Regions from separate parts of the Homo sapiens genome. Here region 2 is linked to region 1. The links are contacts of gene promoters, found by promoter capture Hi-C in blood cells and fetal thymus (Javierre and others, 2016). All regions are on one chromosome and are shown on one strand. The core of a region is centred on a gene start or on the middle of the fragment in contact, and the rest is flanking DNA. Distances in the headings are between cores, read along the strand shown. Region 1 holds the start of ATG4C (autophagy related 4C cysteine peptidase). Region 2 holds the start of ACADM (acyl-CoA dehydrogenase medium chain).

Evidence for each region. The method cuts DNA at HindIII sites, captures the fragments that hold promoters and counts their contacts. A CHiCAGO score of 5 or more calls a contact.
Region 2: the fragment with the promoter of ACADM here is called in contact with the fragment with the promoter of ATG4C in region 1 in 1 of 17 cell types (non-activated CD4 T cells); the score reaches 7.5 in non-activated CD4 T cells.

What each region holds. Positions count from the first base shown.
Region 1 is chr1:62,782,286-62,785,615 of GRCh38, forward strand. ATG4C (autophagy related 4C cysteine peptidase) reads left to right here and starts at 1,847. Exons shown (of 11, transcript NM_032852.4): 1 at 1,847-1,988. RefSeq lists enhancers at 1,548-1,597, 1,698-1,757, 1,878-2,057 and a silencer at 2,033-2,327. The HindIII fragment of the contact is 3,523 bases long and covers 1-3,012 here.
Region 2 is chr1:75,723,005-75,726,334 of GRCh38, forward strand. ACADM (acyl-CoA dehydrogenase medium chain) reads left to right here and starts at 1,705. Exons shown (of 12, transcript NM_000016.6): 1 at 1,705-1,813. The coding sequence starts at 1,784. It also overlaps a transcript of SLC44A5 not described here. RefSeq lists enhancers at 1,091-1,180, 1,831-1,920 and silencers at 1,551-1,600, 1,651-1,700. The HindIII fragment of the contact is 3,396 bases long and covers 1-2,201 here.

The DNA.
Region 1 (3,330 bases), core at 597-3,096:
ATTCTTGTAATCCAGGTCTTTATGAAAGTTACAAAAAGGCATCTAAACAGCTTGTTAGATGCATGCTCTCTCTCCTAAAAAAAATCAAAACAGAGTTTGGGGATTTCGAAACAGGAAACCACAAGCTATGGAATCATGCAAGAAAACTACTTTGCTCACTCTAATAAGTGTGCCATTTGTGATCTTATCATATCCTTTGTTTGTTGTTTTGTTATTTAGCTGTCCAAGTACATGAATAAAAAATAAATAGATCCAGCTACCTGTTTCTGTGAGAATAAAAAAAAATTTAAACCACCAAATCCACTAAAAAATTGAAAAAATTTCAAGTTTAATTTTGAACTTTTCAACTCTTCATTCTTGAAGGTTTTCATTCCCATGTGGTTTCATAGTCCGGTGGCATAGACTTCATATTTTATTTTTAGTTTTTAGTATAATTTCCTATGTAATTCAGAAGCATGTCTGGTAGTCCTTGCTCCAACAAAATCTGCGGTACTGTAAAACGGCATAGGATTACATTTTACAGTAACAGTATTTCTCTTGACATCATTTAGGAGTGAAGATAAAAATTTCCACTTATTTATTTATTTATTTATTTATTTTTACTTTTTTGAGACAGGGTCTTGCTCTGTCGCCCAGGCTGGAGTGCAGAGGCACAATCTTGGCTCACTGAAAACTCCGCCTCCCGAGTTCAAGCGATTCTCCCGCCTCAGCCTCCTGAGTAGTTGGGACTACAGGCGCGCGCCACCGCACCCGGCTAATTTTTTATATTTTTAGTAGAGACGGGATTTCACCATGTTGGCCAGGCTGGTCTGGAACTCCTGGGCTCAAGTGATCCGCCCGCCTCGGCCTCCCAAAATGCTGGGATTACAGGCGTCAGCCGCCGCGCCTGGCCAAAAATTTCCACGTTATAAAAAGCATCTTCGGACCGTCCTTTTTTCTTTCTTTCTTTTTCTTTTCCTTCTTTTTTTTTTTTTTTTCCCCACAAAGCCTCGCTCTGTCGCCCAGGCTGGAGTGCAGTGGCGCGATCTCTGCTCACTGCAACCTTTGCCTCCCGGGTTCAAGCAATTCTCCTGCCTCAGGCTCCCGAGTAGCTGGAATTACAGGCGCCCGCCGCCACGCCCGGCTAATTTTTTAATTTTTTAACAGAGACGGGCTTTCACCATGTTGGCCAGGTTGGTCTCGAACTCCCAACCTCAAGCGATCCACCCGCCTCGGCCTCCCAAAGTGCTGGGATTACAGACGCGAACCACCGCGCCCGACTGTCCTGTGTTTTAATGCTTGAAAATAATCTGAATATGGAAAATGAGTGCACATATCCCTTGATGTTTTATAAATAACCTACAGTCCTAATAATGGCTTGGCTTAGAGTTCCTTCACAACAGGAAAAGAAGGCATCCTGGCTTTTTTTTTTTTTTTTTTTTTAAATCAAAGTGAGGCTTGGGTTGGCTCTATCTTGGTCCTGAGTGCGAGGAAGGAGGGCCGCAATGCATGCTGGATCTTGCAGTTCCTACGCCAGAGGCAAGGGCGTGATGCTGCATGGCCTGCTGGTAGTTGAAGTCCAAGTGCTCGAGAGGAATTTATGGCAGCCGTAATGTGGTTTGTCTATCAGAGAGACAATGCTCACAGACGGATACTTTCTCTTGGTTCTGCGCTTGCTGCATTGGTGGATTAGCGGCTTGGGGTGGCGAACAGGTGGGAAAAAGGGATGGATAAAGTAAGCATAGCAGAGGCCTTTACGCCGCTGCTATCGCTACTGCCAATCGCAAGGCTTTCGTATCCCGGAAGTGGCTGATCTGTTGGATTTGACGCGGAGGCGGTTCCTCTTACTACGGTGGCCGGGGTGCTCAAAGTACCTGTAGCTGCGGCGCTGAGGTCGGAACGTCTGCGTGTGTGCGGGCTGGTTTTGTGGCGGCTGCTGCTAGAGCTGGAGCATTTGCCGGGTTGGTGGCTCCTGCACATTTTTACAGTTCTCCAGTCCTTCTCTTTCGGTGAGGGATCGGCTTGAGGCTAAAGGAGTCAAGAAGTTTGGGACTTAGCGTCTCTGGTCCCCGAATGACTGGGTTTCTTGCGGGGGTCCGCCTTCAGTGAAGACCCTGTGGCCAACCATCTGGGTTCTCTGAGGGTTTTGGCGCCTTCCTTGTCTCTCCTTTCTAGTGTCATTTGTCTTCTAACTCTTCCTCGCTTTGTCCTGGGTTGCAGAGATAAACCGTAAGCCTAACTGTGGGCAGCTGTTCCTCCTTTCCTTGTGGTTTTCTTAGATGTTGCAGGCAAGACTCTTTCCCCTGATCTATCGCATCCATTTGACCCCTCCTCATGCCAGTGCTCTGTCGGCCCTGTTTTTCCTCGTTTAAAAAATAAAAAAAGGGAAATAATAATAATAACTGGATCCCCACTGTCTCTCTGTTCTCATTCCTAGCCTCTTTCTCCCTTTTTGGTGTTTGTTACTGCTTCAAGCCATAACACACTGCCTTGCATATATTAATGCCTTTCCATCTAAATATTAACGTTCATTCACTTCATTTGGTTCCCGCTCACCGTGAACTCTCCCAACCCTACCCACATCTAAGGGCTTTTGAGGTTGGAGGTGTAGAATAAATTCTTACATATGATGACTATATTCATATATGAGAACCTTCAGCGGTCAACTCAGCATCACTGCTTATTGAGTTTATATTTCTTGTGATTTCTTTGGCTTACCTTTTCGTTTTGTATTGGTTATTTACCCACATGGGGCTCACTGCTACCCTATAGTTACAGAAGAATACCTCGTCTTACATCTTTTTATATCCGAATTACTTAGGAGTTTTCTTATGTTTTCCTGCTCGGACCATATGTCCCCGGTGGGTTTTTGGCAATGATTTTGTGTCAGTTGATGGCAGAAAGAGACAAGGGAATGATCTTCTTGCTTGCTTGTGACTTGTAATTAGATTATGAGCCATTGAGAATACCCAGAGGGAGTGGAAAGGCTTTGAAAGGTAAAGTCTATGTATTTTCTGAGTTTCAAATTGATAAAGCTTCTTCTTTGAACAGGAAGAGTTTCTATTTAGTCCAATAATCTGAGGCTATATTGAATTACCAGTTCATTCGCTATAAAATTTTTAGAACCACATGTCAAAAAGTGGCCCATCTAAAGAATTGTATAATTTAGCAAAAAGTCATTAAAAGCCATTTAATTAATGCTCTTTTTCTTTAAAATAGGATTCAAGTATTTGGAAAAATGTATTTATGGTGATTGGTTATGAAGTATTTCTAGATGTTTTGATGGTTCTGGTGAACAGCATCGTATTCTGTTCACTAATGTTTTATAAAAAGGCAGAAATTTTCTGGCTT
Region 2 (3,330 bases), core at 455-2,954, about 13 Mb after region 1:
TGGAGGTGTTTTTACCTTTCTCAGCATTCCACAAGTTGCTTCCTCCTTCCTTTGTTCTCCTCTGTCTTTGCCTCTTTTGGAAAGTTCTAAGTTGCTAGCCAATCAGGACAAGTACAGAGGTCCCCTTCCAGCCAATGGAAACCGGACACGGTAGTAGGGTGCACGTGTCAGGTTATAAATGACCCTGTCTCCTTTATGCGTGTGTGCTCTCGTGGCAAGACTACTAGCGAGCGGCAACCTTTCTGCAGAAAGTAAACTAGCCTTGCTAAGAGCTCCTTTGTCTCAGTGTTGATTTTTGCAACACTGAGCGCCCGTTCCCAACATCAGTAAGGCTTTTCTTTTTAATGAAAAGCAGCCCCAAATCCTTTTCTAAGAGCAGCCTGTGAAGTCGAGCTGCAGGCACAGACAAACAAGGGGGTAGCTTGCTTGGGTGAATGGTGGCAGGAACTACCGACTAGACATGTTTAAGATGAGGGCTCCATCTTCGCTTCTCTGCCAGCCACGTGTACAGTAAGAAGGGGTTACAATAGGCATATGGGTGATTTTGTGCTTTTCGTTCATCTTTTCTGTGTTTAAAATGTTCAGAATAAGAAATTGGAACAAAGGAGACATGAATAGACAATTCCTAATCATCTTTAAGAGTCCGCTTTGTGTTTTACTTACCACCACCACTTTGAAGGCTTTCTTGCCTATACCAGGACAAACTCAGCTCTTTATCCCTTTTCCGAATTTTCCTGGTACTTTCACTTTGAATATAGCGCTTAATTAACATTCTGCCTTGTACCTAGGACTAACACACTATAAATTCCCAGAAGACAAAGTAGGGGAATACAATAACAGGATATAGAATTTTAACAGCTAAATTAGATGAATTTATGGGTGACCTTTATTGGGCAAAAGAAAATGTTAAGTTAGTATAAGATTTAGTATAAGCTACCATCTCAAAACTCAGGGTCTCACTGGAAGAGAAAGTGACTCCAGGTAGAATTCCTCAGGGAGACATTCACTTCCATCATTCGCTGAACCAGGAGCTTTGGACAGCCTCGGATTGCACCCGCATATCCAAGGACACCACATCAGCGGACAAGTCATAAACAGCCTTGGGAATACGCGGAAAGGTCAAATTTACCTAAACAATTAAATTCTCTTTTAAATTTTAAGGAAACACAAGTATGCTTTCGCTTTAGGTAGGGCATTTGAGAGCAAAATGTACTAATACTTTGAATCCGCCAAGCAGACACGATCTGGGTTTGACCGTTCTCTCCGGGTAAAGGTGAAGGCTGACCACGGGGGCCGCTCTCCCTCCAGGCCCCAGCCACGCCCTCTAACCCAGGTTCCCGTCCTGCACCGCGCCGCAAGTCCCCCCACCGTTCAGCGCAACCGGGCCCTCCCAGCCCCGCCGCCGTCCCCCTCCCCCGCCCTGGCTCTCTTTCCGCGCTGCGGTCAGCCTCGGCGTCCCACAGAGAGGGCCAGAGGTGGAAACGCAGAAAACCAAACCAGGACTATCAGAGATTGCCCGGAGAGGGGATGCGACCCCTCCCCAGGTCGCAGCGACGGCGCACGCAAGGGTCACGGAGCATGCGTTGGCTACCCGGCGCCGGGGACCGCTGCCACCCCGCCTAGCGCAGCGCCCCGTCCTTCCGCAGCCCAACCGCCTCTTCCCGCCCCGCCCCATCCCGCCCACGGGCTCCAGTGGGCGGGACCAGAGGAGTCCCGCGTTCGGGGAGTATGTCAAGGCCGTGACCCGTGTATTATTGTCCGAGTGGCCGGAACGGGAGCCAACATGGCAGCGGGGTTCGGGCGATGCTGCAGGGTGAGAGGGAGCCCAGCGGTGCGGTGGGGCTGGAACATGGGTATTGTGGTGTCGGAGCAGGGGGCCCTGGGCCAAAAATAGGTGCGGCCGGGAGGAGTGGGAAGTCGGGCTGAGGAAGGAGCCAGCCTAGGGGCCCCCAACCTGCTTTCACGCCTCCTACCACCGGACGGAACGTAGCCTAGCGTTTCATTTTCCGTATCCTCCCGTCAGGCGACCCCGTTATAGCCGGCATCCTCTCTTTAGAATATCGTTTTTCTTTCTCTGGTAAACCCTCCAAATATTTACCGCGGGAATCCCACCTTTTTCCAAAGTGACCCCGTCTCTGTGTCAGAACCACGGGAAAAAGAAAAATGGAGCAGCTACTCCTTGAAATACTTAATGTTTAATAAGCTTTTCGTTGTAACGTTTCCACGTTGCTTACGGGAAAAAAAAAAGTAAAAAAAAAACCTGCAGAATTTTATGTGAACTTGTGTGTATATTCTAGTATTGGATCTTAATAGATTCTAAATAAGTTTGTCACTAGATGAATTTTGGTATCTTAAATATTCTTGATATGTTCACACCACTGCCATTTAGATGTCACTTAAAATTAAGTTAAAGTTATGTCTTGGACCAAAAAAGCTGCGGTTTTAGAATAATCCTAAAGAATTGCTGCCCATGTTTTGCTGGTGTTATGCAAGTTAATGTGCAGTGAAGGCAGAAATTGGGAGATTTCAGCTATTTTTAACTCCTACACCAGAAAAGCAGATTTCTCAACCTCCAAGGAAGGATCTAAAAAAAACCTGATATAGAAAACTTACACCCTTTTTCTCTTCTTTAACCCATAAAACTGACACTCTTATATTCCCAAGAAATGCACAAAAGTGTTCAATTCTAGTGGTGCTGTTTCGATATTTGGAATTTCATTGTTCTAGACAGAGAGCCCGAAGTAATAAAACCAATAGTTATATAGCATTAGGCTTTCAAAACATTATCGTACTTTAATCGTCCGAAAATACGCAGTGAGATTAGTCCCATTTTTTGGTTTTGAACGGAAGCTATAAGCAGTTTGTAAACCTGTCTACGGCCACAAATATGGTTGTGGAACCTAGATTCACATTCAGCAATTATAACTCCAGATCCCGTGCTGTTTCTGTTTTCTATTTGCAAACCACCTCTCTAATTAACTGGCTAACTTTGTTATGTAATTAACAGGTTGATGGGCATTGTATTCTGGTAATAGCAACCTTTGCACTTTGTTCTATGTAACATATTTTCCTGAACAGTCACATGTGAAGTGACTTTTTCCCTATTTAAATTCCCTCGGTTGGCCAGGTGCGGCGGCTCACGGTTGTGATCCTAGCACCTTGGGAGGCCTCGGCGGGTTGATCACTTAAGGCCAGGAGTTCGAGACCAGCCTGGCCAAAGCAGGGAAACCCTGTCTTTACTAAAAATAGGAAAAATTAGCTGGGCATGGTAGCATATGCCTGTAATCCCAGGAGGCTGAGTCTGCAGTGAGCGGAGATCTCTCCACCGCA